7 separate regions of the Homo sapiens genome follow, and regions 2, 3, 4, 5, 6 and 7 are each linked to region 1. Evidence: promoter capture Hi-C in 16 types of primary human blood cells and fetal thymus (Javierre and others, 2016). All regions are on one chromosome and are shown on one strand. Each heading gives the region's core, a stretch centred on a gene start or on the middle of the fragment in contact. The rest is flanking DNA. Distances are from core to core; before and after follow the strand shown.

The links. The method cuts DNA at HindIII sites, captures the fragments that hold promoters and counts their contacts. A CHiCAGO score of 5 or more calls a contact.
Region 2: a fragment that was not itself captured here is called in contact with the fragment with the promoter of ABI1 in region 1 in 4 of 17 cell types (fetal thymus, total CD4 T cells, total B cells and 1 more); the score reaches 6.9 in fetal thymus.
Region 3: a contact is called between a fragment that was not itself captured here and the fragment with the promoter of ABI1 in region 1, in 11 of 17 cell types (fetal thymus, total CD4 T cells, total CD8 T cells and 8 more). The highest score is 12.6, in fetal thymus.
Region 4: a fragment that was not itself captured here is called in contact with the fragment with the promoter of ABI1 in region 1 in 1 of 17 cell types (neutrophils); the score reaches 5.3 in neutrophils.
Region 5: a fragment that was not itself captured here is called in contact with the fragment with the promoter of ABI1 in region 1 in 1 of 17 cell types (fetal thymus); the score reaches 6.9 in fetal thymus.
Region 6: a fragment that was not itself captured here is called in contact with the fragment with the promoter of ABI1 in region 1 in 3 of 17 cell types (naive CD4 T cells, megakaryocytes and fetal thymus); the score reaches 6.2 in naive CD4 T cells.
Region 7: a contact is called between a fragment that was not itself captured here and the fragment with the promoter of ABI1 in region 1, in 1 of 17 cell types (total CD4 T cells). The highest score is 5.9, in total CD4 T cells.

Annotation. Positions count from the first base shown.
Region 1 is chr10:26,859,031-26,862,706 of GRCh38, reverse strand. It overlaps ABI1 (abl interactor 1), which reads left to right and starts at 1,749. Exons shown (of 11, transcript NM_001012750.3): 1 at 1,749-1,960. The coding sequence starts at 1,844. RefSeq lists an enhancer at 1,507-1,706 and silencers at 2,027-2,116, 2,227-2,376. The HindIII fragment of the contact is 3,622 bases long and covers 1-3,468 here.
Region 2 is chr10:26,440,250-26,443,925 of GRCh38, reverse strand. The region is part of intron 2 of APBB1IP (amyloid beta precursor protein binding family B member 1 interacting protein); the gene reads right to left. Among named protein-coding and RNA genes, the nearest start is that of APBB1IP, 3.7 kb to the right of the region's middle. The HindIII fragment of the contact is 1,660 bases long and covers 1,076-2,735 here.
Region 3 is chr10:26,479,353-26,483,028 of GRCh38, reverse strand. All of the region lies in intron 2 of APBB1IP (amyloid beta precursor protein binding family B member 1 interacting protein), which reads right to left. Among named protein-coding and RNA genes, the nearest start is that of APBB1IP, 43 kb to the right of the region's middle. The HindIII fragment of the contact is 919 bases long and covers 1,720-2,638 here.
Region 4 is chr10:26,495,058-26,498,733 of GRCh38, reverse strand. It overlaps APBB1IP (amyloid beta precursor protein binding family B member 1 interacting protein), which reads right to left. Exons shown (of 15, transcript NM_019043.4): 4 at 2,343-2,430. Among named protein-coding and RNA genes, the nearest start is that of APBB1IP, 59 kb to the right of the region's middle. The HindIII fragment of the contact is 5,009 bases long and covers 1-3,676 here.
Region 5 is chr10:26,552,658-26,556,333 of GRCh38, reverse strand. The region is part of intron 11 of APBB1IP (amyloid beta precursor protein binding family B member 1 interacting protein); the gene reads right to left. Among named protein-coding and RNA genes, the nearest start is that of LINC03028, 25 kb to the left of the region's middle. The HindIII fragment of the contact is 8,879 bases long and covers 1-3,676 here.
Region 6 is chr10:27,136,595-27,140,270 of GRCh38, reverse strand. The region is part of intron 4 of YME1L1 (YME1 like 1 ATPase); the gene reads left to right. Among named protein-coding and RNA genes, the nearest start is that of YME1L1, 16 kb to the left of the region's middle. The HindIII fragment of the contact is 790 bases long and covers 1,771-2,560 here.
Region 7 is chr10:26,597,948-26,601,623 of GRCh38, reverse strand. No RefSeq gene overlaps it. Among named protein-coding and RNA genes, the nearest start is that of FAM238A, 9.9 kb to the right of the region's middle. The HindIII fragment of the contact is 3,160 bases long and covers 93-3,252 here.

The DNA of each region.
Region 1 (3,676 bases), core at 500-2,999:
ATAGTAAATTAGTATCACCTCCCTAATCACTTCCCCAATGTTGTTGAAATGTGTCAATATTTGAATATATACAAACTGAGTGATTTCTACAGTTAAACCTCAAGTAGAGACCAAGATCAATAATACATTAAATTTTAATAACTTGGATTAAGTCGTGTTTGGGTTAACGATAAATATCAAAAGATAACTATTACACCTATTCCAGATAATAAATGTATTACTTTCCATAATATCTGGAATAGGTATAATAGTTATCTTTTGATAGATTCCTTGATGGAGAATCTGGTGGCAAGGGGAAGTTAACGTTTTTAGTAGGAAACTGAGTTTTTCCTTTCAGAGGTCGAAGAGGGAAACTGGTTCCCTGGGGCCCTGAATAAGGCCCCAGTAAAGGCAATATTCAATAAATACCTGGTGCTGGCAATTTTTAATTTGGTTGAGTGATGTTTTTACTCCTAGTTATTTTGATTCTAAATGACTTTATGGAGATACATGAACATATGTCCAAAGTCTTTGGACAACACTTTTCATAGCTGATTATATCCGAAGCATTTAATGTTCCTGTTGAAGTGAAGAGCTTGAAATATAGGGCCTTTTGAGACTATTCCAAAGCAGGTGATAAAAACAAAACAAAACAAAAATCCAGGAGCAAAAAACGAAGGATCAGGGTGGGTGGCTCATGATTGTAATCCTAGCAGTTTGGGAGGTTGAGGCAGAAGGATTGCTTGAGGCCAGGGGTTCGAGACGAGCGAGGGCAACATAATTTGATCCCTGTCGCTATAAAAAATTAAAAAGCTCAGCCAGGTGTAGTGACCGACGCTTGTAGTCCCAGTTACTCTGGAGGCTGAGGCAGGAGGATCGCTTGACTTTAGGAGGTCTAGGCTGCAGAGACCCATGATTGTGCCCCTGTACTCCAGGCTGGGTAACAGTGAGATCCTGTCTCAAACAAGCAAACAACTCCCACCCCTAAAAAAACGTGCACATGACCTTAAAAGTGTAGGAAGATTACATGATAAGGAGAGTCAGAGAAAAGAGAAATTAGGACAGGAAAGCACTACAAGCTATGTATGTTTATTTTATAATTGAGTCTTTAAGGGTACGGAGTATTCGTACTCAACTTGTACCCCCAGTGTCTAGTACGCTGCTTGGTAAACAGCTGGCAATCAAGAAATGTTTGCTAAATTTTAAATGAATTGATGGGGGCGGAACTTCAGAAAGTAAAGCCTGACTCGCTTTATTTCTAAGAAGGCAGAGGAAGTAAAAATCTAGTTTTCCGTACTCTGTCCCCTTTTTAATCCTTCTCTGAATGGGTGTCCTTGATTCACTGACATTTCCTAATTAACCAAGTTCTGCCAAGTTTCACATGAAACTTGGGGAACCGATTTCATTCCCCCAGTATCACCCTGTGGCGCCACCTTCCGGAGCTGTGAGGAAACTCCGGACTTCCCCCCAACACCGCCCCCTCCCTCCACCCTCGGTCTCCGCTTTCTGCGCTCTGCCGCGTTGGTTTTCGGAGGTGTCTGGGCGCATGCGCTTTGGACGGGCCGCCTAGCCTAGGAGAGACTACAATTCCCAGAAGACAGTGCGAAAGAAAAAAAAAATCCCGCGGTCCGTGGGGGTGGGAGAAATAAACGCTCGCGAGAGAACGAGGTTCAGGCGGCTGCACGAAGGGGGTGGAGGGGGGCTGGAGAGAGTGAGGAGGAAGGGGAGGAGGTGCCGTCCCACAATACCAGGCGGGAGGGCGGGTAGGCGGTTTGTATCCGGGCTGTGAGGTGCTCGGAGCCTCGGCGGACCTTGCTGCCTCTGTCTCTTTAACGCGAGAGGAAGCGATGCAGAGGGGTGGAAAATGGCAGAGCTGCAGATGTTACTAGAGGAGGAGATCCCGTCTGGCAAGAGGGCGCTGATCGAGAGTTACCAGAACCTGACTCGGGTGGCAGACTACTGTGAAAACAACTACATACAGGTGAGGCGCTCTGGCGGCCGGCGGGCGCTGGCCGGGTCGAGGACCCGCCGGAGTGACCAGCCCACTGGGCGGGGTGGGGAACTGCCCTGACCTCAGCGGCTGCCACCAACCCGAGCCCCTACCGCAGCCCCAACCCCAGCCCCAACCGGGGACAGAGCGAGTGGCCGGGCTGAGGGAGTCGGGCTGCGATACAGGAAGTGGCTGTGGTGGTGGAAACCGATAGAAGGGGAGAGAGAAAATGGGCGAGGGAGCCGGGAGCCCGCCGCTGCCGCAGCCCGGCGCCCCCCTCGCGTCCGCTTCCCCCAGGGCCCGGCCACCGGGGTCGCGCGCCCCCCAGGTAGCCTCCAGTCCGCAGGGCTGGAGTCCCGGAATACCCCCGAGCTGCCGCCGCGCCGCCTCTCTGCGCCGGGAGAGGAGGTCCAGGACGGGAGAGGGGAGAGGAGAGGGCAGGGACGAGGCTGAAGCCGCAGAAGGGAGAGGACCAGCGGGGTGTGTGTTGTGTGTCGGCGGAGGGTGGGGTGGGGGCGATTATGTCAGTTTCAGCCCCCAGAGGGTGTGTCTTTTATTTATTTATTTATTTAAAAAAAATTTGTCATGAGTCACATTACACCGACCTCCCGGAGGAGAGGAGGAAGCGGGTGTGGGGAGTGAGGGAGGGCGTTTGAGAGAAGTTCATCTTAAAATTCCTTTAATTGAAGGTTTGTAAATCTGTCTGCTTGTCCATTTTCAAGTCGGGTTTTTTTTATTTTTTTCCCCCTCTCATCGTTTTCACTTCCGCCCCACCATAATGTATTCTAAGAGGTTGTTAGGGCTGCTATCATTAATTATCAAACACGAATTGTTCTTAACTCCTTGGAAAAACGGCTTACCCTCCCTTCTCCCAAAAGTTCTTGAGCTGTAGGCTTCATAAGTAACTTAAAATAGACTGGTGTCATCGCCGGTTGCTTATTTTCTGAGGTTTCTCTCTTAACAAGCTAAGTAAATGTATAGTATGTGAATCCAAATACAGAAACGAACAGAGGTAGCCTCTGAACTACAACGTAAAAATATCTGTTATTGTAAATTAGAAAACTCTTGGGACTTTGTGACAGATGCTTGTTTGTTCGTTTCTCTTTGGATGATTGGAAGTGAATTGTGTGTGGTAGTTTGTTTTGAAGATCTTTAACTGTGTAAACCAACAGTTTGCGCTAGAAACAAAGTAGCACAGTCCTTTGTATAAATATAAAGGCACCAGGAATGCTCTTGCTTTTGGTAAGGCAAGGCCAAAACGTGCTTTGAAAGGTTAGGGTTATTGCAATTCAGAACTAAATTGTTTATAGAAATGTCTCCCATGTGATTATAATTTTTAAGAACCGATGTTTCTGTGTTGGCAAATGCTTCCCCTCTTTATTTTTAGAGGGAGATGCTGTTTTCAGAATGTTTTGAATATTTCTCAGTTTTCATGTTAGTAACATTGTATCTTCAGTAGCACTACTCGGAATTTATCTTCACAATTTTTTTTTCAAGCTTTCACTTTAGGAATTCTCCTGATAAGTGAACTTGTTGAATGCCTGCCACATCTACTGTATCACTTTGTGCAAACTTTATATTTAGCCCTTCGAAAAACTTTTAAAAATCTAGTAGGGATGTGGATATGGTTTGCAAATATAAAAGTGATCTCGTAGTTTATCGATATTAAAAATAGGCAACTTTTATTCAACTTAACATGAAAAGCCT
Region 2 (3,676 bases), core at 656-3,155, 420 kb after region 1:
TTTGTTCACTGACATTCCTTGCGTCTATAATAGTGCTTAGCAAACATTTTTGACTGAAAATGATTGAATTGTATTTAAACTGGAGATCTGGCCGGGCACAGTGGCTCATGTCTGTGATCCCAAGACTTTGAGAGCCCGAGGTGGAAGGATCACTTGAGCCCAGGAGGTCGAGACCAGCCTGGGCAACAAAATGAGACCCTGTCTCTACAAAATTTTTTTTTTAATTAGCTGGGCATGGTGACGCACACCTGTGATCCCAGCTACATGAGAGGCTGAGGCAGGAGGATTGCTTGAGCCCAGGAGGTTGAGGCTACAGTGAGCCTTAATTGTGCTGCTGCACTCCAGCCTGCACCCTGTCTCAAAAATGAATGAATGAATGAATAAATAAATAAAGTGGAGATGACTTCCTAAGTTACATATTCTTTTTTTCTTTTGCCTCCTTTATTTATTTTCCTCATATAAGTAATTTTTTTTTTTTGAGATGGAGTTTCGCTCTTGAAACTTTTTTTTTTGAGATAGAGTTGCCCAAGCTGGAGTGCAATGGCATGATTTTGGCTCACTGCAACCTCCACCTCCTGGGTTCAAGCGATTCTCCTGCCTCAGCCTCCCGAGTGGCTGGGATTACAGGCATGCACCACCATGCCAGGCTAATTTTTTTGTATTTTTAGTAAAGACAGTGTTTCACCATGTTGGTCAGGCTGGTCTTGAACTCCTGACCTCAAGTGATCCTCCTGCCTCAGCCTCCCAAAGTGCTGGGGTTACCAGTGTGAGCCACCACGCCCGGCCACATATTCTTTATTCCACTTAAAACTCATAGTTCTTTACTGATGATTCTTGGTCACTTTATCAATGTCTAAGATAGCACAATTTCCGTGGTACTTACTATTAACTATTTCTAATACATGTTGTTTTTATGCTATTCAATTAAAGTAAGCTGTCTTTACTGAACAGCACAAGCTGCTTGTGACCACCCAGAGTCGGTGGAGAACCTGACTCCAGTCTGCCATGCCAGTGTTCTTTGATCCCCAGTTTGACACCATCCTTTACAAATGTATGTACATGCTTCCTAAAAGCTTTTTAAAAATTAGCACATTCAGAATAATGATTACCTCTAGCTGGGAAATGGGGAAATGTTATTGGAAGGAGACCAGGAAATGTCTTGGTAAATATTCTACTTCTTAAGCTGGGTGATAGGTACCCAGATGTTGGCTTTATTATTATTTGTTGTTATTTACATATATACATCATCTTTTGTAGATATGAAACATTTCATAATAAAACATGAAGGAAGAAATGAATCTAGTCATGATTCACTTGCTCTAATATCATTTTTTGTTTCTCTCCAGTTTGATGTGATGTAGCTCTCTGGATGCAAACCCTCCAGTCGGTTTGGGGAAACACAGTTGCTGTGTGATTTAGCTTTTATCCCCCATCCCAGCCCACAACCATCTCACTGATGAGTCTGTAACATGAAACTAAATCAAAAAGATCCCCAACAGAATTAGAAAAAATATTAAACTCACTGCTTGCTTGTTGATTTAATCAACCTAGCCGGCTGTCATGTGGGATTAGAATAAAATAAACACAAAAATGAAAACACACGATTGCTAACAAAGCAGATTCTTTTTTCAAGGCACACGTAAAGATAATAACTTCAAAGTTGATTATATTAACTTGTCTTCCCATGATAACACGATAAGTTCTTTGCTTGGTTTCCTTCTATTCAACCTTCTCCCGTGACCCTGGTTGGGGAGACCAGGGACCCTGATATGTAGTCCCACAGCACTCAACTCTGGTTCCGCATGGAATTCTACATCTCCTCTTACATCTAGTTACATCTCCTCTTCTAGACTATAAACTCATTGTGGAAAGGCCCCAGGTTTTTTCATGGGTGCCACCATCAGATGGCCCAGTTCAAACAACAGCTCTGTTTCTTACTTCCTGCGTAAGTTTCTTACCCTCTCTGTGCTTTCATCTTGATGTGATGATTAACAAGATGACACATCTAAATTAGTACAGGGCCTGGTAGTATTTATAAGTAAACATTATAATAATTATTATTTGCTATTACTATGTGATGATCAAAGAGAAAACTGAGTTGACAGAGAAGAAAGAAAATAGCTCTTATGATTCTTAATTATTCAAGTTCATGGTCAACGCTCAGGAAATGTTTTAAAACTGAGTCACGGAATCAAGCTCCAGAATATGTGGAATAATGAGAACGTGTGATGCCTTGGAGTGGTGTCACCTCTCTGCTTGCTCATGCCTGAGGTTTGGGACCAGTGGAGCCAACGGGATCTCAGGGGCTTGTGATATTTCCATGGTACCACTCAGTGAGATTAATATATTCTGCACATTTAGCCAGCCTCTTTGGAGTCCTCATTTTGGGATCACAAATTGGCTAGGAAATGATGATGCAGTGGTGGCAGGTCACATCCTCTAGTCCCCCAAAAGCTGTCCTCAGGGTCTGCCCTTCCAAGCTGCAGGTACAATCTAGTCTCTTTAACTGGGTATAGGTGTAATGGCATTCCTTCATGCGGCTAGTTCTCTCTTTTCAAGAGAAATCTAATGATTACTGTTCCAGATATCTAGCAGTTTTCTCTAAAAGTCATGTTTCTCACGATAATTAAAAGTGTAATATGTATTTTAAAATCCCCATGCAACCAGTGTAGAAATCTTACACTTTAAAATCTGGCATTTATTATGTACATGAATTTATAATAAATGCTTAAGCTTTAAGTGACTTGCCTCTTAGATGACAGCAGTGACATAAAACACACACATTCATTTTCATACTGAGAAGATACCTGTTGTGTTAATAAAAATTGTTCTGTTTTGAGGCAAGCATTCCTAAGATCACCGTAGTCTCCATAATATAAACTCATGGGGTCCTATAAAATTGTAAAGATTGTGGTCCAATAGGCTATGGAACGCAGACAATTTATTATAAGATTTGTGGACTCACTAAAATGTTTTAGGCATAAAAATAATTAAAATAAAATTGAAGAGAATTAGAAGAAAATGAAAATAATAATGCTCTTTGGAAGTAAGATGGCTTAAAGAAAATTCAAAGTGACATATCAAACAGACATTTATGGCAATGAACTTTATAAGTAGCTCATTCTAATAATAATATGGAACTATTTAAAACTTTGATTGATGAGTGAAAAAAGGCAAATCAATAGTGGATAACTGGTGAACATTCTTAGGATATAAAAATACAAAAAATGTAATAAATACTATAAAACCTAGTATTGTGTTTAAGATTTAAAGTAATGCCATAAAGTAATTCATATTACAAAGTTATATTTCTTGAGAAATAGCAATTTAAAGATTTCAAAATATAATATTGACCTGTTCAAGTTTGGGCTGTTTCTTATCTCAGTTTTCAAATAAGATGGAAATTTGCCTTTTTACATATAGGCCAGATATTGACTGCGCTTTTACAGGAACTTCTCAGAAACAAAAGACCTCAAAGATATTGATATTTCAGAATGTAATCTGTTATGGTTATGATTATTTTCTCCATTTTTAAAAAATTTGTGATCAGCAATTCTAATGTTGATATAATGTTGCCAGTATTCCAGTTGGGACCAATTCAAAGAATTATAGCAACTCCTCAATTGCTATTTTAAGAACAGACATAATGTAGCCCAATCATCTCACTTTACTGACG
Region 3 (3,676 bases), core at 930-3,429, 380 kb after region 1:
AACCTCCACCTCCCAGTTCAAGAGTTTCTCCTGCCTCAGCCTCCCAAGTAGCTGGGATTACAGGCACCGGCCACCATGACCAGCTAATTTTTTTTTTTTTTTTTCACTTGAGAAAGAGTTTCACCATGTTGGCCAGGCTGGTCTCAAACACCTGACCTCAGGTGATCAGCCCGCCTCAGCCTCCCAAAGTGCTGGAGTTACAGGGACTGTTGTTTTTTTACCCTACAGTGTTTTGAGTTTATTACTAGATTGCCAAAACTAAAATAGAACTGGAATTGATGAGAAATAAGTTTCAAAAATCTGAGGCTCTCCAAGTATCAATTTGCTTTGATATTTTTATTATTTTTTAATTAGAAACCATCTGGCAACATTTTTTTCTAGGAAATAAATCAGTAGACATATTACAACTACAGATACAAAAGAGGAGAAAAAAATTTTAAAAAGCTTATGAATGGGATTGCCCTTAGGATGAAATACGCACTACAGAATTCGGATGCTCGCAAATGCTGGTGGAAACTGTGAAGTCACCTGTGTACAGTGTGATTGAAAATAACTTAGAATATTGAATTTTACCTGATTCCTTCAGTGTTGTATTTTTTCAAAATGCAATGAAAGCGTTTTATCAAGAGGAAGTGGTTCACAGAATAACACAGCATATGGTTAAAGGTTCTTGCAACGTTTGAGGGAGGAGAAAGGGGAAGCCGAGGCTTCTGTGTAGCGTAAAACAGGAAACAGAAGCATCTCTAAAGTTACGGATTATATCAAATAATTCACTCAACAGAGAACTAAGGTGAAGAAACCTCTTGGGCCAACTTAACCAACTTTGCACTGTACCCCTGAGATCGGTGAAAATCTTAATAGGCTAGCAAGTAGTTACTGAATCAAAAGGACAATGACTGTGGTCATATGATCAATTCAGACTAATATGCAGTGAGTCACAAACAAAATTCATATGGACATGTGTATATACATAGGTAGGGTCACACAGAAGGGACAGCCAAGACAACAGGGTCCTTTTGTAAGCAATATTGTCATGGCAAAAGTTACCTGTAAATAACATTTTAAATAAAAAACTAATCATTAAATGAAATGATTTATTTCAGTAATTTAAAAAAATACTAAGAGAGTGCTTTGAAAAGTCTTAGAATTTTGCAGTAAAGACACACACACACACACACACACACACACACACACACACACACGTAATGAGATGGGCTACCACATTTTAAAAAATATGATTTAGGCCAGGTGCGGTGGGTTACACCTGAAATTCAGCACTTTGGGAGGCAGAGGTGGGAGGATCACTTGAGGCCAGGAGTTCAAAACCAGCCTGGGCAATATAGCAAGACCCCATCTCTATCCCCTCTGCCAAAAAAATTAGCTGGGCATAGTGGTGCGCACCTGTGGTCTCAGCTACTCAGGAGGCTGAGGTGGGAGAATCCTTTGAGCGCAAGAGCTCATGGCTACAGTGAGCTATGACAGCACTACTGCCCTCTAGCCTGAGTGACAAAGTGTGACCCTGTCTCTAAAATTAAAAAATAAAAACAAAAATAACAAAACAAAAAATAAAAGATACAATTTTTAAATGTGCTTATTTCCAAATTGCTGTGATTTTATGCAAACCATAAAGTTAGTGAAAAATTTATGTTTTGCATAAAATCAAAGCAATTTGGAAATAAGTGGGTGGGACAAGGTGGGGACACTCTGCTAAGTCAAGCTTCAGTTAGAAAAAAGTGAGAGAACTGAACAACACCCAAAAATGTTCCCCAGGACTCAAGTGCAAGAACACTTGACACAGGACAACAGAGGTCAGCACATATGAACCCAACATCCCCACTTCCATCTGTCTGTCTGGCCTCCAGCTCTGGGAGACAAGTTGTAGACTAGTTTCACTTGGATGCCCACGGGTTGGAAAGAGAGTGCCAAGTCTCTAGATTATTTTAAGTTCCCTTTTTTTTTCTACTTTGGGTGTCTATATAAGGAATGGGGAACTGCTTTTGTATTTAGGACCTACTGTGACCTAAAACCAGAGGGACAATGCAATTTAGAATTTTTTGAAGAGATACAAATAGAAAATACTCTGTTTATCATGTTGTATTAATAAATAAAAATCATGAACATTTCTTTTTAGAAACAAAAGTCCTGTGAATAGTTAGGTCAATTCACTGTCCCCTACTTGTCTTTATTTTCTCATGAATCTATCTCAACTGGACTTTTGTTTGCACTATGTCACCAAACTGTGTGCCAAGATTACCAACAATCTGTGGTGTATGGTGGCTCATGCCTGTAATCCCAGCACTTTGGGAGGTCGAGGTAGGCAGATCACTTGAGCCCAGGAGTTAGAGACCAGCCTGGGCAACATGGGGAAATCCCATGTTTACCAAAAAAAAAAAAAAAAAAAAAAAAAAGAAGCAGCTCAACCATTCCAATATTAAAGTTATTTTGAAAGAAGAGATTACCAATGATCTCTCTGTTGTGAAATCCAATGGTTAGTTCCCAGTCAGCATCTTATACAGCCTTTAATATTATTGATCACTCCCTCCTGGAAATATTTTCTTCACTTGGCTTTCCTGACAGTTTTCTTTCCTGGTTTTCCTCCTCACAGAGGCCAATGTACCTTGAAGCCAACAAAGAAGCTTACATTTCAGGGCTTCTCACTTGCAGGACCCTTCTGATGCCACATGTCTCCTCTGGCACCCCAGCAGCAGCACACAACACAACACTGTTCTGTTGCTGGGAGGTCACCTGGGTCAGGGTTCCTAGGTCTTGGAGTGGGGTCAGGCGACTACCAGCACTATCTCCACTTTACTTGGAGTCCAGCAAAAGCCCTCCCATGATGCATTTCGTGGACATTAGATCTCATGTCCCAATCCAAGGAGAAGATCTGAAGGAAACGCTCTGCTCTGCTCCTTGCCCGGGGTCACCTTGATCCAAGCTTCCTGGCTACCTTATGTCACCCCCAGCTCCAGCTCAGGATTTGGGAGGGTGGTGGGAACTGATGGTTCTGTGGTCCTGGCCAAACAGTCCAGCTGTCGCCTGGGCCTTTGGATGCCACAGGGTGCCATGTTAGTAAGAACAAAGGCTGCACTTCTCTGAGGCCTTGTTCACTGGCAAGAAGTACCGCCAGAGCTAGAAACCACAGAGGAAGTTACAGAGGAGGCATTACCATCTAGAGCTGTCAAGCAAAAGTCAACTTCTTCTCAACTCTCAATCCTAAAAATTAATTTTGATCAGCCATGCTGGAGGAGACACTAAATCATCTATACAGAAAATTGTATTTCAAATTTATTCCCTATAGGAAGAGAAGGTAAAAGAATATGCAGCCAAAAGCGTAGCAAAAATACATCAGCAAGTTATTTAATCATCATAAAGATTACAATGTTGCTTTTTAGATATATACACTTACGTGTCAATTTTTATTTTTATTGTTTTTTTTCAAATGTTTGCATATTCTAATAATGCTGTAAAATAAAGAGTTTCATTTTAGGCAGTGAAAACTATTTTTTCACAGTAAAGTATCACAGTTAAGTCCTTTTGGGTTCAGTGATCTCTAGTGATTAATAACAAATACACTTTATAAATTATACACTTTATAAATTATTGCTGTCTCCTATCCCAGCCATGATTTTAAATATTTTTCTTTATTTTATTTAAAAAATTATTTTAGGTTCAGGGG
Region 4 (3,676 bases), core at 512-3,011, 360 kb after region 1:
TCAGTACTGTGATACCAGGCACTGAGTTAGTGCTTAGAAAGCGTTAGTTGAGATGACTACAATTAAGTTGAAATATTGATTAAATTTTAACTTTAATTGAACTGATTATAAAGCATGTGGCTGTTATGAATTGGTGAGGCTAAATTTGCTTTTTTCATATGTGCAAGTATATGTTATCTATTGCCATCATAATTTTACTAAAGTGTATAGCATTTATTTATTTATTTGACAGAGTCTTGCTCTGTCATCCAGGCTGAAGTGCAGTGGCATGATCTTGGCTCACTGCAACCTCCGCCTTCTGGTTTCCAGTGATTTTCGTCCCTCAGCCTCCCGAGTAGCTGAGATTACAGGTGCCCGCCACCTTGCCTGGATAAGTTTTGTATTTTTAGTAGAGATGGGGTTTCATCATGTTGGCCAGGCTGGTCTTGAAATTCTGACCTCAAGTGATCCACCAGCGTCGGCCTCCCAAAGTGCTGGGATTATAGGCAAGAGCCACCACGCCTGGCCTGCTTTTGTAAAAAAACTTCATGAATGTTACCATCTTAATGGAAATGACTGGCAGGAATAATAAATTTATGTGGCAAATAAAAAAAGTGTAGGAAAAAGAGAAAATCGCAAGATGTATATTATAATTTATCAAGAAAGAGTCACTGGCACTTAATGGTTTACTACAAAACTACTAGAAATGATAGAAACAAAGAAATCCTGGTCGGGTGCCATGGCTCACACCTGTAATTCCAGCACTTTGGGAGGCTGAAACAGTTGGATCACCTGAGGTCTGGAGTTCGAGACCAGCCTAGCCAACATGGCAAAACCCCGTCTCTACTAAAAATACAAAAATTAGCCAGTCATGATGGCGCATGCCTGTAGTCCCAGCTACTCGGGAGGCTGAGGCAGGAGAATCGCTTGAACCCAGGGGGCAGAGGTTGCAGTGAGCAGAGATCCCGCCACTGCACTCCAGCCTAGGTGACAGAGAGAGACTCTGCCTGAAAAAAAAAAAAAAAAAAAAAAATCCAGAGGACAGAAATAAAACTTGGAATTCTGGATTTCTGTAATTGAACTTTTCTCCTATTTTGCTTTTCACATTTTTGGTAGGCACAGCAAGTCTTTGGGAAATCTTTTTCCAGAGTTGCAGGGAGTTCTCACTAATTTGAAAGTGATTGTTTCAAGACTTTTTTTTTTTGAGGCAGAGTCTCGCTCTGCCGCCCAGGTTGGAGTGCAGTGGCGCGATCTCAGCTCACTGCAAGCTCCGCCTCCTGGGTTCACACCATTCTCCTGCCTCAGCCTCCCAGGTACCTGGGACTACAGGCACCTGCCACCACACCGGGCTAATTTTTTGTATTTTTAGTAGAGATGGGGTTTCACCGTGTTAGCCAGGATGGTCTCGATCTCCTGACCTTGTGATCTGCCCACCTCGGCCTCCCAAAGTGTTGGAATTTCAGGCGTGAGCCACTGCGCCTGGCCTCAAGACTTATTATAATATGAATAGCACGTGGCCTAAAGATGTCTCCATTTAAATAAACAGAGTTTTTGTTTTGTTTTGTTTTTTATTTTCTTGAGATAGAATCTCACTCTGTTGCCCAGGGTGGAGTGCAGTGGCAGAAACACAGCTCAGTGCAGCCTTGATCTTCCTGCCTCAGCCTCCCAAGTAGCTGAGACCACAGGCACATGCCACCACGCTTGGCTAATTTTTTTATTTTTTACTTTTTGTAGAGATGGGGTCTTGCCATGTTGTCCAGGCTGGTTTCAAACTCCTGAGCTCAAGCAATCCTCTTGCCTTGGCCTCCTAAAGTGCTGGGATCACAGGTGTGAGCCATCATGCATGGCTGAGAGATTTTTGGTAATAAAATAAAGTGACAAGTTCAGGAAAAATGAAAAAATGTCAAGTAGACTAAATTACATATAAGTATATATTATATATAAATTAAAAAATATTTTAAATAAAATATTATGAAGTATCTATTCATATTTATTAATCATTATGAAATAGTTGATTTCTATCACTGAAGGGACATTTCCTTACTAATATTTTTGTATACTACCCCTTGTTACTCTATGGGCTCAGTAATAAGAAGAAACTCCCCTTACTTTAAAACACGAGATCATTTCGAGACTTTTCACAAATGCAGAATGGTGTTCCCTTTCATTATTGGTGAAAATGTCTTCTTGACTCTCTCAATTCAATCTAGACACAGTAAAACCCAGTCTGAAATCCATGATTTTAACAATATTTATCATGATGTTTAGGTTCCTTTAATTTAGTTTTCAAATTATAGTTTCATACTGATTTGAATCATCATTATGATTTTGAATTACTTAAGAAAAGAAATTGTTATGCTTACCATTTAAATCTTTAAACCCCACACTGTAGTTAAATTCAGCTCTGGGTGGATTAGGGTCAGGAGGAGGGAGAGTGTCAACTCCTAAACTCTGTGAAAAAAGATCCCCCCATCAAAGTTATTCATGATACAAACATTTCTGTAGCACACTTTACTCAGCAAGTCAAAAACCATGTATCATTTACACATTTTCTCCCTTAGTGTGTTCTCTGAAAACCATATGGTAACTTGAAAATGTTTTATGTAATTTTTCCCCTATAGAAAATTACAGCTTAAAAATTATTCTAGAAGGAAGATCTTGAAACAGACCACGTCAATTGAGAGCAATGATAATGAGGTAGTTAATTTTTATAAAGAACACATAATTTCTTGTAATGGTGAACACACACACTATATATATATAATATATATATTATATTTATATATATTAAATATATATAAAATATATTTTATATATATTAAATATATATTATATAAAATATATATTTATATAAATATATATATATAAAATTCTGTAATGACTTAAGTCATTACATCAAATAAAGAAATCTCCAGTTACTTGGAGAAGAAAAGCTGTTTGAGGATGCAGTCTGTCGTAGTAAAATTTTTCCTTAGCCTACAATCTTGAGAACCTACCTGTTGGCAGGGCTGTTTAGCCAAGCAAACCTATGAGTACATCCACTTGGCCACAACAAAGAAATAGCAAAAACCAAAAGGGCTTTGTGTGAAGGCAGGTCCAAGAGACTAAAAGGGGCCTCTTTCCTATTCTTTTTTTTTTTTTTAACAAAAATGAGACGGGGGTCTTACTATGCTGCCCAGGCTGGTCTTGAACTCCTGGGCTCATGTGAGCCTCCTGTCTTGGCCTCCTAAAGTGCTGGGATTACAGGTGTGAGCCATCATGCCCAGCTTCTTTCCTGTTCTTGCCTTACAGTAACAATACTTAAATGTGGTCCTGCAAAAATCCCAGACTCTGACCCATCAGAACACTTCCCCCACTGGCTGCAGGAATGAGGTACAGAGAGACCACACACGTTCACTTAAACTCTCCTCCACCATAGGAGGAGAAAACACAGTCCTCATCTTAAGAAATGTGGTTGCCATTGGCTCACACCTGTAATCCCAGCACTTTGGGAGGCTGAGGCAGGCAGATCACAACATCAGGAGATAGAGACCATGTGGGCCAACATGGTGAAACCCCGTCTCTATTAAAAATACAAAAATTAGCTGGGTGTGGTGGTGCACACCTGTAATCCCAGCTACTCGGGAGGCTGAGGCAGGAGAATCGCTTGAACCTGGGAGGCGGAGCTTGCAGTGAGCCAAGATCTTGCCACTGCACT
Region 5 (3,676 bases), core at 309-2,808, 310 kb after region 1:
CAGCCTTGCAGACATTATAGAGCAAGTCACTGGGCTTGTTCTCCACCGTGTCTTGAGACTTTGCCAAGGAGCTTATTGCCTAACCGAGCCTTTTGCTGAATAATCATTTGCAAAGAGGTTTCAGGAAAATGCTGGTGCAGTGTCACTGGCCAGGCTCTTTCGCAATTGATTTGATTGTTCCCGATCATAAAGAGAGAGAAGCTCTCTTGGGACATGAGAACAGCACACAGAGGTCAGGGCGATTGTGGACTGTCACTGCTTAAAGGGCACTTATAGACCCTCTGAGCTTACGAAATGAGAAAACAGGGTGAGAGAGGGTGAGCAATTTATCCAAGGCCAAAGGTAGTGAAAGAACCAAGGTCCTGTTTGTTCAATAAATATCTCTGGGTGCCAAGAAATATGCTAATTCCTAGGTACATTAAGAGGAGTAAGAGAGGCAGGGCCCCGTGGCTCACACCTGTAATCCCAGCACTTTGAGAGGCCAAGACAGGCAGATCACTTGAGGCTAGGAATTTGAGATCAGCCTAGGCAACACAGTGAAACCTTGTCTCTACAAAAAGTACAAAAATTAACCAGGTGTTGTGGCACACACCTGTAGTTCCAGCTACTAGAGATGCTGAAGTGGGAGGATAGATGGAACCAGGTGTTCGAGGCTGCGGTGAGCCATGATTGTGCCACTGTGCTCCAGACTGGGCTGGAGGAGACCCTACCTCAAACAAACAAACAAAAAAACAACAAAAAGAGGAATAAGAGAGCTCATGTGTTAATTGGGCAATGCTCCCTGGAGGTGTTTTAGGGAGAGATGTATGTAAACACCTGATGTAATCAAATCACATATGTAATGTGATTATGAAATAGTATGTTCCATACTAAAAGTTTGAAAATGGGCCAAGAGAGGGTCTTTGGAAGAAGCGACAGAATGCTGTAATATATTTGGAGAACATGGAGAAATTCTGTATGGCTGAGGTCTGGAAACCATGGAATGAAGAAGCAGAAATTAAGCTGGTGTGGAATCTGAGTAAAGACCCTTGAGTCAAACTAGAATCTAGACATGATCCCCTGGGCAGTGGGGGGCACTGGACATTTTAAAACAGCACAGTGACACAGGAAGTCACTGGGGGCTATGAGGAAGATGGATCTGGAGTGAAGAATAAGATCGAACTGAGGGAGGGCTCAATGGGAGATCTTGATGGGAAATAGAAGAACTTGCTCATAGATTAACGAGAAATGGGGACAGGAAGAAAATCAGGCATGCTTTTTCTGTTTCTAGCTTGGTAGAGTAGGTGGATGTTATGGGTTTAATTATCTCCCTCCTCCTAAAAGCTATGGTACTCACTCCTGGTACCTATGAATGTAACCTTATTTGGAAATAGGGTCATTGCCAGATGTAATAAAGTTAAGATGAAGTCATCCTGATGAAAGTGGGCTCTAAATCCAAAGAGACTGGTGTAAGCCGGGTGTGGTCGCTCACACCTGTAATCATAGCACTTTGGGAGGCCAAGGTGGGTGGATTGCTTGAGCCCAAGAGCTCAAGATCAGCTTGGGCAACATAGCTAAACCCCATCTCTGCAAAAAATACAAAAAATTAGCCAGGTGTGGTGGTGTGCACCTGTAGTCCCAGCTACTTGGGAGGCTGAGGCAGGAGGATCACTTAAGCCCAGGAAGTTGAGGCTGCCATGAGCTGTGATCATACCACCACACTCAGCCTGAGCAACAGAGTGAGACCCTGTCTCAAGAAAACAAAAAACACCAAAACCGACAAAAAACAAGCAAACAAAAACAACCACCAAAATGACACGTTCTTATAAGAAGAGAAGAAACAGACACAGACAAAGACAAAGAAAGAAGATAGTCACATGTTGAGGGAGGCAGAGATTGGCACACGCAGCTGCAAGCCAAGGAATGCCAGCACTGCTGGGAGCTGCCGGAAGCTAGAAGAGGCGTGGAGGCATGGAACAGATTTTGCCTCTGAGCCCTCAGAAGGAACACAACTCTGGTTTTGATTTTGGACTTCTGATTCCAATATCACCTTGATTTGGGACTTCTGGTCTCCTGAACTCTTCAATAAATAAATTTCTGTGAAGTTATCTAGTTACCAGCAGTTTGTTACAGCAGCTCCAGAAAACGAATAGAGTAGGTGATGGTGCCATTCATCCTTGAGGGACTGTGGAAAGCAGGGGGTGGAGGAAATGTTGAAATCAGTGTGCATGATAGAGGTACCCCTTGGACATGTGGTTACTGCACGTGTGGAGCTAGGGAAGAAGGTGAGACTGTCCACTACGGATTAGGAATTATTTGTCTCCAACACAGACAATGGTTGGAGCTGTGGCTGTGAATGTGATCTCAGCGAGAGCACGGGGAGTCTGGTGAGAACTGAATTTAGGACCCTGGAGAGCATTACAGTGTGTAGGGAAGGAGGAGGCACCAGCAGAAGCAGAGTAGGGGTCCAGTTTGAAGACCATAAAATGAGGATGCTGTCATCAATGCAAAAGATGCCATGAGGACTGGAGAAAGCCACTATTCTTTGGAAATCTTAATAATAGCAGTTTCCACAGAGGTGCAGGGAGAAGCCTGCTAGCATGCAAACTCCACAAAGCCAGAGGCCTTTGTTTTGTTTACCGATGTACCCCCAAGTCTGAATAAAGAAAATTCAAAAGATATATGTATACATTCGTAGAGAAAGGGTCTGCCTCTGTTGCCCAGGCTGGAGTGCAGTGGTGCAATCATGGCTCCCTGCAACTTCCAACGCCTGGGCTCAAGTGATTCTCCCACCCCGATCGGCCACCTGAGGAGCTGGGACCACAGATGTGCGCCACCATGCCCAGCTAATGTTTTTAAATTTTTTGTAGAGACGAGGTTTCACAATGTTGCCCAGGTTGGTCTTGAACTTCTGCTTTCAAACAATCCCCCTGCCTCGGCCTCCCAAAGTGCTGGAATTACAGGTGTAGGCCACTGTGCCTGGCTGAAAGGAATGTTGTTGAATGAATGAATTAAACTATGAGAATAAAAGTTGAGGCCGGGTGCGGTGGCTCACACCTGTAATCCCAGCACTTTGGGAGGCTGAGGCAGGTGGATCATGAGGTCAGGGGTTCGAGACCAGCCTGACCAACACGGTGAAACCCTGTCTCTACTAAAAATACAAAAATTTGCTGGGTGTGGTGGCGGGCACCTGTAATCCCAGCTACTCAGGAGGCTGAGGCAGGAGAATTGCTTGAACCTGGGAGGCGGAGGTTGCAGTGAGCTGAGATCGCGCCACTGCACTCCAGCCTGGGCGACAGAGCGAGACTCCATCTCAAAAAAAGAAAAAAAAAGTTGAGGACATGGAGGGCATCATCACTTTCTCAGGAAGTCTGAGTTAAAGAGAAGACAGAGGTCAAAGGTGCTGCTTGAAGAGGTGGGGCAGATACCACTGAGGGGAGTGAGTTAGAGCCCCCAAACCAAGGAATATTTGAAAATGTCTGTGGCCCAAGGAAAAGAGAAGAATTGTCTGCAGAGGGTTTGAAGATGCTGAAGCCAAAGGGAGTGGCTGACGATGTGGTTCCAGAGGCCACGTTGGAGATAGGAGCCTTCTTCCTCTGAGATGGAGAGTCAGGAGGTAGGAGAGTTACTGCGTGGGATAAATTTAGAAGTAAACAGGAAGTAAACTGGGACGATTCAATCCTGTTCTCCGTTTTCT
Region 6 (3,676 bases), core at 916-3,415, 280 kb before region 1:
CACTTTGGGAGGCTGAGTCAGGTGGATCACCTGAGGTCGGGAGTTCAAGACCAGCATGGCCAACATGGTAAAACCCCGTTCTCCACTAAAAAAGAAATACAAAATTAGCCAGGTGTGGTGGCACATGCCTGTAATCTCAGCTACTCGGGAGGCTGAGGCAGGATAATCGCTTGAACCTGGGAGATGGAAGTTTCAGTGAGCCAAGATGGCACCTCCATCCTGGGCAACAGAGCAAGACTTTGTCTCAAAAAGAAAAAAAAATTTAAGATATAAAGATAGAAAATAAATTGAATTTCTGAAAAATAATAGAAGAAATTAATACACACAAAGCAAACATTTTAAAATAATAGGTGGAAATAGTTTTAATTAAACCAAAAACAAATTTAGTATAAAAAAAGGAACAATTTAACAATTCTGATTAAGAAACAACAGGAAAATACAGACAGTATTAGAAGTATGAGTGGGAATTGCCATGGATATGTGAAGGTTTTAAAATTGCAAGGTAGTATGTGTAACTTTATGTCAAAAATAAAAATATGTTGAAATGGACAATTGTCTAAGCAATTAATTAACAAAGTTAACCCAAGAAGAGATAGGATAATAACCATGAAGTTTAAAAGACAGTATTTTAAAAATATTGTCCCTTTGCCCCAGAGGCACTAGGTTCAGATAATTTTTATGGCTGCATTCTTCTAGAATCTTGAGTTTCTTTTTAATTTAAAACCTTATTAAAAAGAAAAAGATAGAGTTCCCTATTTATTCCATGAGATTGCTGTTAGTAAAACTTTTTAGTATTAGCATAAGGCCAGGCACTGTGGATCACACCTGTAATCCCAACACTTTGGGATGATCGCTTGAAGCCAGGAGTTCAAAACAAGCCCAGACATCATCTCAACAACAGCAACAAAAATTAGCCCGTCGTGGTATCATGCCCCTGTAGTTCTGGATACTTGGGAGGCTGAGGTGAAAGGTTTGCTTGAGCCCAAAGTTCAAGGTTACAGTGAGCTATGATCATGCCACCGTACTTCAGCTTGAGTGACAGCAAGATCCTATCTAAAAAATATATATATGTATATATGTATGTATCTGTGTCTGAATGTATATACACACGCAAGCACGACAGAGGAACAAAATAGATGTGTTTCACTTAACAGAAATCCTAAATAAAATCTGAAGAAAGCAAATCTAGAAATGTGCTAAAAATATTATATCATGATTAAGGAATACAAAAGTGATTTAAGATTATTAGTAAGTCAATTTATCATATTGATTAGAAAAGAAAAATATCATTATTTCAATGTATGATAAAAAGACATGATATATTTTAATTGCTGTGCTTCCTGAAAACTCTTAGAAAGTTAGAAATGGAAGGAAACTTAAAATTTATTAAACATCTATTATGTTCCTGTTAATTTGAGAAACATGGAGTATCCTGGTTTTTTTTTCAGCATTAATTTGGAGATTCTGAACAATATGATTTAAAAGAAAACGAAATGAGCCATATGTAAGTCAAAAGAAGGAGTAAAATTATAATTTGCAGGTGATAACGATTGTTTACCAGAAAATTCAAGAAAATCATCCAAAAGGCTGTTGAAATAAAGAGTTCACTGCATTGTCCATACCAGATAAATGCATAAAAATCAATAGCTTTCTTATATTCTAGCGGCAGGTTTTATTTACAATTTCTTTAAAACCCAGTAAATGTTTTATCCTGACAGGAAATATACAACATAGATATATACACACATACACACGTGTGTGTATGAAGCTTTACTGAAGGAAATGAAAGAGGAACTGAGTGAAATAAAATAAGGCCATAATCCTATTTGGAAGAACTAGGTATTACAACAGTATCAATTTACACCCAAATTTGTAAAGTCAATACAACCCCAATCAAAACTCTAATGACCCACTTGGGAAATCGAGAAGTTGATTTTAAACTTAATTTGGAATAACTGAGTACATGTTAAAAGAATACTAATGAAGGGGATTTTATCCTACTTAAGTACATGAAAATACAGATATTTAGCCATGGAAATCAGTAGTGTAGTATTACAAATAACTAAAATTAAAAAATTTAACCTAGTGCTGACATACATCAGTGCAACAAAATTAAGAATTTTGAATCAATAAGCAAATGATGGATTATCAAATGTTATCAGCCTAAGTGGCTGTTTTGGAAAAATCAAGTTCTTTTCTTACATCATACCAAAAAAAAAAGTTCCAAATATGTTAAAGGGTTGAAAACAAAAATATAAAACTGAAAATATTAGAAGTAAGTAGACTACCTTTAAAATCTTAGTTTGGCAATGAAACTCTAATCAAGTTAAAATGCAGAAAACACAGCAAAGGTATGGCTGCACTGAGCTAATAAATTACTGTATATGATCGAAAGACAAAGACACATTAAAATAAATGTTTACAATATATATAACTAAAGATTACTATCTGTAACATCCATATTATCTAAATAAAAATGGAAAAATGTGCAAAGGACATGCATGGTCAATTTACTAAAGAAATAAAAATAAAAATAGTCAATAAAAATACAGAGGAAGCTTTTCAAAATTTTCCCACACTTGTAATCTGGGAAATGCAAAGTAAAACAAGGTACTGTTATTTTTGCCCGTCAGACTTGCACAAATTTAAAAGATTCATATTATTTAGTGTCGGCAAGGATATGAAGAAAAGGAAACTCATAAGCATTGGTGGGCACATAAATTGATAACAGCCTTTTTTAGAAAGTAGTCTCTTAGTGTCAAACAAAATTTAAACCTTAACAGTGTTTCTTTCAGGAATTCAGTCTACATCTGCTGACATACATATATAAGAATGTTCACCACAGTATTGTTTCCAGCAATAAAAACCAGAAAACAAATAATGTTCAGGGAAATGGTTGAATGAATTGCACTGTGATAAATTGGAAAAGTGTAAACAGCCATTAAACTGAATGCACTGTTCTGTTCTGAAAAATATGCACGAAAAATGAAAATTGCAAAAAATTAGGTACTATTTCTAGAGTAGTTTTTATAGAAAGAGCACCTGTGTGCATGCATACAAGGGTAGTCAGAATTGTTAACAGGTTATACTTCTGGGAAGTGGGATTGGGGCTTGAGAAATTAGAAGACACTAATTTGATACACTTACCCTTTTTTCAAAAACATTATGTAATTACCAAAAACATGTAAAAATCAGTTGTGTAGATTCAATCTATTTTAATTACTTGGTTGGGTTTTTTTTTTTTTTTGAAATCACAGTTTATCAGAGTTGATACTCAGTTTTTTAAATTATATTGTATAACCCTCTGACTTCTCTATTTACCTTTATCCCCTATCAACATAAAAAATAGGCCAGGCGCGGTGGCTCACGCCTATAATCCCAGCACTGTGGGAGGCCAAGGCAGGTGGATCACCTGAGGTTAGGAGGCTGAGGCAGGATAGTTGCTTGAACCCAGGAGGCGGAGGTTGCAGTGAGCAGCAATGCCTTGCACTCCAGCCTGGGCAACAAGAGTGAAACTCCATCTCAAATAAATAAATAAATAAATAAATAAATAAATAAATAAATAAATAAAGTTCCTTTTGAAAAAAGGAGGATAGAAAAAACTATAAGCTGGGCATGATAGATTTAAGTTCTCAGACCTAATCCCAGCTCTTTGGGAGGCTGAGGCAAGAGGACT
Region 7 (3,676 bases), core at 423-2,922, 260 kb after region 1:
AAGCTTTTAGTGTATTCTATTACCTTCAACTTAAATAATGCCAGAAAGATTTTTATCTAATAATTACAGATTCATATGTTTAAATATAAGCTTATAAACAAAGAAAGAAGCTATTTATTATAATTATCCTTGCTGTGGCTGGGGGCAGTGGCTCATGCCTGTAATTCCAGCACTTTTGGAGGCTGAGGCAGGAGGATCCCTTCAGGTCAGGAGTTCAAGACCAGCCTGAGCAACACAGGGAGACCCTGTCTCTACAGATAATTTAAAAAATTAGCTGGGCATGGTAGTACATGCCTGTGGTCTCCCAGCTACTTGGGAGGCTGAGGCGGGAGGATCACTAGAGCCTGGAAGATGGAGGTGACAGTGAGCTGGGATCATGCCACTGCATTCCAGCCTGGGTGACAGAGCAAGAACTTGTCTCAGAATAAATAAATAAATAAATAAATAAATAAATAAATATAATAATTTCCAATGTAAAGTAGGAAATCAGGCAATATTGGGATGTTTAATTTTAACAAGTTGTTACAAGCTCTAAACCCATTGCTGTACTCTAGGCAAAAGCAGCTGTGAGTAAATCCCCAACCTACTGATAAAATCTGTGTGAAAACATATTTGTATAATGATTTTTTGAAATTAAGAAACTAACATCTAAAAAACTATCTTATTATTTAGTGCTATATATTTTTCTGTAGTTCATTTTGGGCTTTTTCATCCTTGGAACTGGGATATGGTTTTTTCTTGCTTATTGCTTTTTAGATGCTGTGAAATCTGTTTATTTCCTGTTTATTCCAAGAGTTATTTACCTCTGTATTTCTTTTTTTAAATCACTGTATTTCTTAATTTCTAAGTAGTTGGAATTATTTTGTCTGTATTTTTATGACTAAATAATATGTTTGGTAAAACTCTCCTACTCAAAATGTATTAAGGTTTCCTTGTGGCCCAACATAAAACATTTTTGGACGTGTTTGGTGATTATAGGTAAAAATATGTATTGTGTAGTGAGAAGTTTTAAGATATGAAATTGAGTGTATTGATTACATTATTCAAGTCCTTTATGAGCCTCTCTATTTTCTGTCTGTTAGACAAGTTAGATTCTTTTTTAATTTTTATTTATTATTATTTTTTGAGATGGAGTCTTGCTCTATAACCCAGGCTGGAGTGCAGTGGCGCTATCTCGGCTCACTTCAACCTCCACCTCCTAGGTTCAAGCGATTCTCCTGCCTCAGCCTCCCGAGTAGCTGGGATTACAGGCACCCACCACGATGCCCAGCTAATTTTTTTTTATACTTTTGGTAGAGACGAGGTTTCACCATGTTGGCCAGGCTGGTCTCGAACTCCTGACCTCAGGTGATCTGCCTGTCTCGGCCTCACAAAGTGCTGGGATTACAGAGACAAGTGAGAATCTTAAGAGGTGTGTATTAAAAGTGCCTACTTTAATTATATTTTTATCCAAGTTTTTTTTCTAATTGTTTGAAAGTTACATATTTTGCTCTGTATTATTGGTACATACAGATTTTTTACTTCTATTTTCTTCAAAAAACAGGCTTTTATCTTAACAATGATTCCATTTATTTGGAAATATACTTATAACTATTGATTTCAATTCGCCTGACATTAATATTGCCATTCATGCTTTCTTTTTGTTGAGTTTTCCTCAAATCTCTTTACTTTTTACCTTTATCTACTTATCTTTATTATTTGTTTTAAAGTGTTCTTCTTGCAAAAAGAATGTATAAACAGATTTCGATTCAATGTGATAGTTTCTGTCCTAATAGAAGTATGTAGGCTGATCACATTTATTATAACAATTGATGTATGTGATTTATTCCTTCTGTCTTACATTGTACTTCATCTTTATTTAACTGTTGGCTTCACCCAGACTTTCTTATCTTTTTCTGATTTGAAATTCATTCTTCTCCCCGACACCCCGCCCCCTATTGATTTGGAAACTCAACTGAAAAAGACTGCTACAGTTCCTCTCATGGTTATCTTCTTTTTTTGCCATTTTCATGGGAAAACAAGTTTTTAGATATTTTTCCGCACTAAGATTCTATTTGTCCATTGCTTTCCCCTTCATCCCAATAAGATGAGACCTTCGAATATTTTCATGTTTTGCATCTAGTTACGTAGCTGCTAGATTTTGTTAAGATAGTTTAATATTTTGAACTTTAGATTATTAGTTTTTCCCTTGAAGTGTATCTGTTCTGTTTAAAGTGTCTTTGCCTTTGACACTCCCCCATCCCCCACTTGGAGTCATTTCTCTGCTCACCACCATCCTTTTCTCATGGTTCCATCTTCAAGTCCCTGTCTTGATTACTTTCTTAAGTGTTTTGCCCAAACAGGGTGGATAGGTGATATATTCTCTGAATCTTTGCATAACTGTTAGTACAGTTTTTATTTTACTCCAACAGATGATTGATATTCATTTGCATGTAACATATCATTGTGCCTCTTTACCACCTGAGCAATATTCTCCAGGCTAGCTTTTATCAGTAGTAAGCTGATATTTTAATCTCTGTCTATCTACTGCATGGTTTCTTATTCTGAATTTCAACTGAAAAGAAAAAGGAACATGGTTGCCTTTTTTATGCAGCAGTAAATAATACATAGAAAAATTTGCAATGTTTATAATTGCTCAAATTGAAATATCATATGTATGTATATGAATAAGTGTGAATGATATTCTGAGTACATTAATATTATATCAAATGTTAAATATTGATTGATTCAATTACTAGTCATTGAGCTCCTGGAGGCCAGGGACCACATTTTAATTATTTCTGTGTCTCTAACGTATTTGCTAGAAGACAAAATATATTTCTCTTCCTACCTTTCCTCTCCCCCAACTCCTCCAATCTAAAACTGAGCCTGTTTTCAGTGCAACAGTACAACAAGATTCCAGATGGAAGTCAAGCATAGAGTGATTTTATTAACCCCAGTAGCAAAAATATTGTTTTGATAAAGATAGAAATTTTACATTCCATCTATTGTTTCCTTAATTTAATTAAAAAATATATTGGTACTACAGTCACATAGTTCAGAGTCAAAGTGATATAAAATGATATTCATTAAGCCATCTTGCTCCTACCCTTGTCTCCATCACTTTTGTACCTGTTTTTCCCTGCAGAGTTTATTCATTCAACAAATATTTATTGAATATTTAGGTTCTCAGTATGTGCCAGACACTGTTCTAAGTGCTAAGGGCACAGCAATGAAAAATAACAGGAAAAATAATTGTGCCCCCATGAAGCTTACTTCTGGTAGGAGAGACAAATTAACAAAACAAATAAGTTATATTGAATATTAGGAGATAAGTGCTAAGGAGGAAAAGATAACGGGGTTAAAAAAAAGAAATGCATTTGATTTACTATGATACTCAGAACAGTGATTGTTGATTTTATATTTAAAGATGATGATGTTTTTGATGGTCTTTAGCTCTGTAACTATAAAGATTGGTAGGGAAGTAGTCATTTCTGTAGTTTTTTTTTTTTTTTTTTTTTTGAGACAGAATCTTGCCCTATCACCAGGCTGTAGTGCAATGGCATTATCTCAGCTCACTGCAGCCTCTGCCTCCTGGAGACTGAATGATTCTCCTGCCTCAGCCTGGGTAACTGGGAATACAGGCACCCACCACCACGCCTAGCTACTTTTTGTATTTTTAGTAGACACCGGGTTT